2 separate regions of the Homo sapiens genome follow, and region 2 is linked to region 1. The links are contacts of gene promoters, found by promoter capture Hi-C in blood cells and fetal thymus (Javierre and others, 2016). All regions are on one chromosome and are shown on one strand. Each heading gives the region's core, a stretch centred on a gene start or on the middle of the fragment in contact. The rest is flanking DNA. Distances are from core to core; before and after follow the strand shown. Region 1 holds the start of KCTD6 (potassium channel tetramerization domain containing 6). Region 2 overlaps DNASE1L3 (deoxyribonuclease 1L3).

Region 1 (4,290 bases), core at 574-3,073:
GTAGTTGAATTCTGCTCCGTTACTGATTATGAGACCCTGAGAAAATCACTCTTTATGCCCAGCTTCTTCTTTGGGGAAATGGAGAAAATAAGGGAGATCATGAATATAAAACCATCTGTAAACTAGCAAGTATTAGACAAATGTGAAAACATTAGTGGCAGCAGCATAAACAAAATTTCTAGGTTAACATGAGAAACTTGAGTGTGAACACAAGTAATTTAGAGCATTGGCCTGGAGACGGCAAATATGGAGGAGGCAGCCTCTTAATTTGCTTCAAATCTCCCCAGGTCCTCCTTTTCCCAGAGCTCCAGAAGGGAGAACTATATACAGGTAAAGGGGAGTGTCTAGTTTTCCCAGAGTTCACCAAACACCTGAGCTCCTGATCTCAGAAGGAACTTCTTTAAAGCATGACTCGGGATTATCTCCAAGTTAAAGCTGAATCCAAATACATACAGGTACTCCATTTTAAATGGACCCCAAATATCAAAATCCAAGCGCACTGAAGGATTCATAGGGTTCACCCTAAGATTCCTTTAAGTAGTAATGCTTTGGTTAAAATATGATTTATGAAAATTCAAATCACAAAACTTTGGAATGGCATCCATGGCTATCCTGACCACTCCATCGTTCATATCTAAGGCATAGCACAAAATCAAGTATCAGTATGGACTGATGGTTTCGGCCAAAGAGAAAATACTCTCAACCTACCAACCCTGCTGACAAACACATTTTCCTTTTCCTAGCTACATATTCGTTCATTTGAAAACATCTCAATCTTGGGCTCAGGACTGTGCTACATGCTGTCCCCAAGCTTCTCTCCTATCCCAGGATGATTCAAGTAATAGGGCATTTGTGACAGCGAAAAAAAGAACATGCCAGGGGGATATAGAAGAGATACTTAGGCTACCCCAAATATTCTTAGCCGAGCCGGGTCATCCCAGGTCACTTTGCCACCCAAACCTCTTCTATCACAAAGTCCTAAAATTGGATCCATCAACTTGTTCTAGAACTGGTATACTTGAACAGAAACATGGTAACTTCGGCAGAATATCCAAACAGGATCTCTGTCACGTTTCATTTCCCCGTCCCACCCCCAGACACAGCCTCCACCACTGTCAGCCCAGCAGGTGCTGCCAGGGCTCCCCATTACCATGGCCATTTATCACCTCTGACATCAAGCATTAAAAACGCCACCACACACACACAAATCTAGGCATAAAGAACTCAGCTGCGATCTGAGAGTCTCTTCAGGGCAGAAAATCCCAAAGGCAGGGTTTTGAGTCCTGCCTCAAGCTTTAAACTAGGGCAATTGGTGGCTAATAAGCGCCATCTCCCAAAAACAATCATTTTCGAGCACACCCCAAATATCTCCGTCCGGGCCGCCCTTCGCTGCTGCCCCGCCAGCGAAGCCCCCGCAACCCGACCCGGCCAGGGGTAGGGCGGGCGATGCTCCGGGCCCGGACGAGGGGCGCGCCGCGGGGCTCCGAACCCGGGCCCGCAGAAACCGCGCATCCCCGCCGGGCGGGCCCCGGAACCCCCGCCCAGGCCCCGCCGCGGGCACCTCCGCTGCTGGCTCGTGCCAGCCCGGGACGCGCGGTCCCCTCAACGCGGCCCCGCCGCCGCCCCGTTCCAGGAGCCCCCGCCCAGATCCTCCTCAGCCCCGCTCCCCTGGCCGCTCGGCGCAGACGTCTCCTGAAACCCGGCCCTCCCAAACCCCGGCCCCGCAAGCCCCGCGCCAGCCCCACTCACTGCGCGGCGGCGGCGGCTGCTGCGGCCGGGCCGGGAGATGCCCGCGGCCGGAGAGCGCGAGCGCGGGGACAAGCGAGCCCGCGCCCGGCGACGGCGGCGGCGGCGGCGGCAGAGGGGACGACTGAGCCCGCGCCCGGAGTTGCGGCTCCAGCTGCCCGGCGCGGGCGGCGCCTTCCCAGCAGAGCCGCGGCGCCACGAGCGCGGGCGCCCCCTAACGGCAGCGCGGGCTGGAAGCCAGAGAGCGGGCGGCCTGAGGAACTCAGCCAGCGCAGTCGGAGCCGCGCGGTCAAGACCACACGACCGCAGCCCCGAAGCCCCGCCCCGAAGCCCCAGTCCCGCCCCTTAGGCTCCGCTCCGAAGCCCCGAAACCCCGCCCCTACGTCCCGCCTCCGCCCGCAGCCTGGGGTCCGCCCAACCCCAGGCCCACTGCGTCCTCAGGGGTGGTGCCTCCACAGCTGTTTCTCCTTAGTCATTTCACGAACTTGTATGGGCCCCCCACTATATCTCAGGCCTGGGGGTTTAGGAGATACAGCGGCCACCAAGACGGAGGCGGGTCCTAATCAAAGGAGAAGACAGACAAGACTCAAGGAAACAGCTAATAGACAAAATAATGACAAGTTATGGCCGTAAGTGTTGGGAGGGACATGATTAGAGGACTTAGATGGAGAAGAAGGGAAGGGAGCCCCTGCTCCAAACGCAGTGGCCGAGGAAGACCTGGACCCCGACCTGCGGCCAGAGCTCCTCCTGCCTGCCCTGCATTGGGGAGACAACCCTGCGATGAGGCCTGTGAAGAAGCCCCCGGGGCCACCGGGGCAAGACGGTCTGGTCCGGCCTGACGGGCAAGACAGCAAAGGGCTGCTGGGCCCAGAAGCTCAGCAACACGGGCAGCCAGGTGGAGAGAAGGGCAGAGCTACCTTCAGCAGACAAAACGACCCATGCAAAGGCTCTGGGGCCTGGAGGAGCTCGACCCTAGATGAGACTGGCGCTGGTATTGTCCCCACTTCACCAGGAAGGAAGCCAAGGCTGCAGAGGATGGGCAGCACCTAACGCCTCAGGGCTAATTGGTCTCCATCCGTCCACTCGTTCCAAGTCCATTCACTTCCTGCTAGCCAGGCCACTGTCCCCTTCCGGTGGGACCAGTTACCTGATGCTGGGTTTAACCTTCTCCACCAGAATAACCACTGGCCTTAGAAACTCACTTGGGTTTCACGTCTGCATGTGTGTGAGCTAGCTCTGGGGTTGAAATTGTATCAGCATGATCATCACAGTTATATCTGATACTTGATTTGTCTCCAAAAGCTCAAATTGATAGGTTAAATAAATGACATATGCTTCATCAACATAACTGAGTGCTACATTATCAAATTCACAAAGACTAGGTGAGAATACAGGGAAATGTGTGTGAAAATGATCAATACACAAACTAGTACACATGATATCCTGATTTTATTTTTAAAAACATAAATATATACAGACAAAAATTTTGAAGGAAATACATCAAACCATTGACCATCGTGTTCAAGATAACAGTATGGGAATGTTAATGGCATTACTTCATAACGTTCTTCTGAATTTTCATGAATATTGAATTTATAATCAGAACACATAAATATTGAATTTATAATCAGAAAAATACAATGAGTTTTGGTTTGGTTTTTCTTTTTTTTTTTTTTTGCCCCCCACTCCTCCCCACCCCACTGGGTTTTGTTGTTTTTTAATAGAAGGACAATACCAAAATTACCCAATACTCAGATCTCCAGAATTTGGTGCCACTGAAAACCCAGAATTGCCTCTGATTTACTGGGTATCCTTGAAAGAGTCATTTCCCCTCTCAGGGCTTCTATTTCCCCATATAAAAACTGATGGATTAATTTTGTTGGTGATTTTGTCAGACCTAGTCCCTCCTATCTTAAAATTTTTATAACTAGTGCTAATTGTACTTTCACTTTTGTATTTTATAATTGATAGATGGCTATTGAAATGCAGTTGGGTTTTATATAATCTTATATTCAGCAAAAGTGAACTCTTTCAGTTCTAATAAGTTTGTAGGTTCTCTTGAATTCGCTGTGCAAATAATCATAGAGTCTGCAAGTCATAACAGTGTGGTATCTTCCTGTCCTTTTTTTCCTTTTTCTTGCTGTACTGTGCTGACTAAATTCTCTCACACAATGTTGAAGAGCAGTGATGGTAATGGGCATTTTTATCCTGTTCTTGACTGCTTGTAACATATCACCATTAACTATAGTGTTTGTTGTGGATTTTTTGATAGATATTCTTTATCAGGGTAAGGAAGCACTATTCTTCTTTACTATGAATGGGTGCTGAATTTTATCAATGTGAGATTCCCCCCATTGCAATGTAATGAATTACAACCATGGATCTTACTATATTAAACCATCCATGTATTCCCGGGATAAACTCGCCTTGATAATGTATTTTTTTAAGTCAATGCATTTTTATTCAAGGAATTTCACACGTCATGATGTATTATTTTTTCAGTATACCGCTAGATTCCATTTGCTGATATTTCATTTAGGGTTC
Region 2 (4,290 bases), core at 1,067-3,566, 300 kb after region 1:
TCATATTGGATTAGAGCCCATCCATATGACCTCATTTTACCTTAATTCCCTCTTGAAAGGTTCTATCTCCAAATACAGTCGCATTCTAAGGTGCTGGGGGTTAGAACTTCAACATAGGAATTTGGCCGGGGCGGGAGCAGGGGGTAGACAAGATTCAGCCCATAACAGACCCTGTTGTTTACTGGGCCTGGGACGCAGAGTCTTTGCTAGAGTCCAGTGTGAAAGCATTCTGCAGCAGCACCCACCAGGTGACAGTTCCAAATCTTGTCTTTTAGAATTTCATTTTCATGGGTGACTTCAATGCCGGCTGCAGCTACGTCCCCAAGAAGGCCTGGAAGAACATCCGCTTGAGGACTGACCCCAGGTTTGTTTGGCTGATCGGGGACCAAGAGGACACCACGGTGAAGAAGAGCACCAACTGTGCATATGACAGGTAGGAGGCCCTGCAGGGTGCTGCTGGCTCACCACAGTGCTTGGTGTGCACTAGGAAAGACGCAAGGTGGCTGGGCACTGTGGCTCACGCCAGTAGTCCTAGCACTTTGGGAGGCCTCGATGGATGGATCGCTTGAGTACAGGAGTTTGAGACCAGCCTGGGCAACATGATGAAACCCCGTCTCTACAAAAAATACAAAAATTAGCCAGGCATGGTGGCACACACCTATACTCCCAGCTACTCAGGAGGCTGAGGTGGGAGGATCGCTTGAGCCCAGAAGGTGGAGGCTGCAGTGAGCCAGGATCGCACCACTGCACTCCAGCCTGGGTAACAGAGTGAGACTTTGTCTCAAAAATAAAAAATAAAAATAAAAATAAGAAAAGCACACTGCTTGCAGAGCTGAGTCAATTAAATGTCAGGCCCCTCTACTGGGTACCACATGTAGCGTATGAACCACAGGACCCTATGCGGTGGCCCTGGGCACTGTAGCTTAGCAGAGGTAAGCACTGGCTTCGCTATCAGATAGGCCTGGATTTAAATCCTGACATTATCACTTCATATGTCTGTGACCAAGAGACAAGCTCTCTGTGTCTTTCATTTCCTCCCCTGTAAAATGGAAGTTATCCTAGTGCCTCACTCATGAAGATCCGATGTGGAGTAAATGAAATAACATGTCAGGCTGCTAGCACAATGCCTGGCATACGGCAAGTGCTCATTACATTCATGGGCTGATCATTGTTCCATCACAAAGACTTACCGCAATTGATGCGCCCAATCCCCATCATTAGGCATTGGGTTATTACCAAGGGTTTGCTGTTATAAATACTGCTAAAATCAATATCCTCTGTGCATTTTGTGCAAGTATTTATGATTTCCTCAGGAAGCAACCCTAAAAATGAGACCAATTAGTGCAACGGTATTTATATTTTTAAAGCTTTAGCTACATATTCCTAAATGCAATGCATACATTTAAGTCCTAGCATTCCCTCGTGCTTTTTAAAGTCCCTTCAGGGATTTTCAAACAGCTTTCATCTTTGCTCCTTCAATGGGGACAGAGGGGGGAGTGCCTGAGGCGTGTGAATGTTAGTGATCTTCCATCACAGAGACCACAGGTGGGGAAACCCCTAGGAGCCTGGTCCCAGGTGGTGGCCACAGTTCCCAGAGCTCAGCCTGCCACGAGGAAGTGTGAGATGGCCATCTGCATGAGAGCCACCAGGCCACTCGTTTTCACTTCCTCTCGGAGTTTTTTTTTTTTTTTTTTTTTTTTTTAGACAGAGTCTCGCTCTGTTGCCCAGGCTGGAGTGCAGTGGTGCGATCTCGGCTCACTGCAAGCTCCGCCTCCCGGGTTCACGCCATTCTCCTGCCTCAGCCTCCCGAGTAGCTGGGACTACAGGCGCCCGCCACCACGCCTGGCTAATTTTTTTTTTTTTTTGTATTTTTAGTAGAGACAGGGTTTCACCATGTTACCCAGGATGGTCTTGATTTCTTGACCTCGTGATCCGCCCGCCTCGGCCTCCCAAAGTGCTGGGATTACAGGCGTGAGCCACCATGCCCGGCCTGTTCCTCTTGGAGCTTTTGAGGCTGGTGTTTCCTTTGCAGAAGTTATCACTCTGCAAAGTGGGAACCCAAGGCGGGGAGTTACAGGGGTCTAAGTGCCCAGACCCCCTATTTTGAAGGACTTCCAGCAAAGCCTGGACGATGGCCACTCACTCAGTTACACATGGCAGTTGTGTGCCCGTGGGTAGGTCAAGTCCCTTCTCCAGCGCCATTCTTCTCCCCTGGCAAATGAGTGGGAAGTGATTGAAAATGATACAGAAGAATCAGAAGGCAACATGGCCACAGTAGATCAGGTCAGGGGTAGAACAGGTTAGAAAAAGATGTTTACTAAAAGGATCCTGATTTTATACACATGTATCCCAAAGGATGGTGGGATTACATGTGACATTTTAAAGATTCATTTCTTATTTTGATGCTCTGAATTTTGTTTCTCATAACAACATGTATAACTCTTGTGCCTCTTTTTTTTCTTTTTTTTGAGACAGAGTCCTGCTCTGTCGCCCAGGCTGGAGTGCAGTGGCAGGATCTTGGCTCACTGCAACCTCCGCCTCCCGGGTTCAAGCGATTTTCCTGCCTCAGCCTCCCAAGTAGCTGGGATTACAGGCATACACAAACATGCCCCGCTTTTTTTTTTTTTTTTTTTTTTTTTTGTAATTTTAGTAGAGATGGGGTTTCGCCATGTTGGCCAGGCTGGTCTTGAACTCGTGACCTCAGGTGATCCGCCTGCTTTGGCCTCCCAAAGTGCTTGGATTACAGGTGTGAGCCACCATGCCCGGCCTCTTGTGGCTTTTAAAAAGTCATAGGCCAGTTGTGGTGGCATATGCTGTAATCCCAGCTACTTGGGAGGCTGAGGCAGGAGGATCACTTGAGCCCAGGAGTTCAAGGCTTTAGAGCAACATGATCACATGCCTGTGAATAGCCACGGCACTCCAGCCTGGACAACATAGTGAGACCTGTCTCAATACAATAAAATAAAAAGTAAAATTAAATAAAATAAACGGAGAAAATGAAAAGCCATAAAAATGATGTTTTAAAAATGTAATTAGACAAGATGGTCTCAGTTCCAGTCTTTGTTCCATGTTCACATATTTATCAAACACCTCTCATGTGCTGAGTGCTGGGGGAACATGCAAAGATGCCCAGGATCTGGCTGGTGCCCTGGACTGAAAACGTCACATGAACACTGGCCTGGTCCTGCACATCCCTAGAAGAAGTCAGAAATGGAAGAGCCTTTAACATGTCATTCTTTGCTTTCTGAGTCTTAAAGAAAGCTTTCACAAATGTCTAACTTGATGCGAAGAATTTACATTTGGGTTGAATTAAAAGCCGTAGCCCGGGCCGGGCGTGGTGGCTCACACCTGTAATCCCAGCACTTTGGGAGGCTGCGGCCGGTGGATCACGAGGTCAGGAGATCGAGACCATCCTGGCTAACACAGTGAAACCCCGTCTCTACTAAAAAATACAAAAAAAATTAGCCAGGCGTGGTGCCGGGCACCTGTAGTCCCAGCTACTCGGGAGGCTGAGGCAGGAGAATGGCATGAACCCAGGAGGCAGAGCTTGCAGTGAGCCGAGATTGCGCCACTGCACTCTAGCCTGGGTGACACAGAGAGACTCCGTCTCAAAAAAAGAAAAAAAAAAGCCGTAGCCCTGGAGCGGTGGCTTACACCGGTAATCCCAGCACTTTGGGAGGTTGAGGTGGGCGGATCACCTAAGGTCACGAGTTCAAGACCAGCCTGGCCAACAGGGATAAACCCCGTCTCTACTAAAAATACAAAAATTAGCCAGGCGTGGTGGCACACACCTATAATTCCAGCTACTTGGGAGGCTGAGGCAGGAGAATCGCTTCAACCCGGAAGGTGGAGGTTGCAGTGAGCTGAGATGGCGCACTGCACTCCAACCTGGGTGACAGAGCATGACTGTGTCTCAAAAAAAAAAAAAAAAAAAAAAAAGTTAGTTGTGCTGGTGATGTTAGCAAATGCAGATACCAAAACTGTTGATTAGAATGGGGAAGGCCCACTGGTCACTCATGAAATGGCAGTTTGACTCACCTTGCCATTCCTCGGGAAGTCACTCAGGACCACGTAGACCACAACTGCATCACCCAACTTGGGATATGTTAGTTTGTTTCCAAAACTCATTTGACTACCTCATTCTTACTTTTTGTCATTATTGCAAAGCACATATGCTGTGATTTTTCTCGATATTTTCCATTAAATCGCTTAATTTCTTGCTGAAATAAATTTTTAAAAGAAATTTCATGATACTAGCATGAGTAAGAAAGCAGCAGCATTTGCCATAAA

The links. The method cuts DNA at HindIII sites, captures the fragments that hold promoters and counts their contacts. A CHiCAGO score of 5 or more calls a contact.
Region 2: a fragment that was not itself captured here is called in contact with the fragment with the promoter of KCTD6 in region 1 in 1 of 17 cell types (naive B cells); the score reaches 6.9 in naive B cells.

The regions. Positions count from the first base shown.
Region 1 is chr3:58,489,629-58,493,918 of GRCh38, reverse strand. KCTD6 (potassium channel tetramerization domain containing 6) reads right to left here and starts at 1,823. Exons shown (of 3, transcript NM_001128214.2): 1 at 1,750-1,823. RefSeq lists a silencer at 1,523-2,172. The HindIII fragment of the contact is 5,155 bases long and covers 1,296-4,290 here.
Region 2 is chr3:58,193,964-58,198,253 of GRCh38, reverse strand. It overlaps DNASE1L3 (deoxyribonuclease 1L3), which reads left to right. Exons shown (of 8, transcript NM_004944.4): 6 at 276-433. Among named protein-coding and RNA genes, the nearest start is that of DNASE1L3, 15 kb to the left of the region's middle. RefSeq lists an enhancer at 1,505-1,684. The HindIII fragment of the contact is 1,894 bases long and covers 1,370-3,263 here.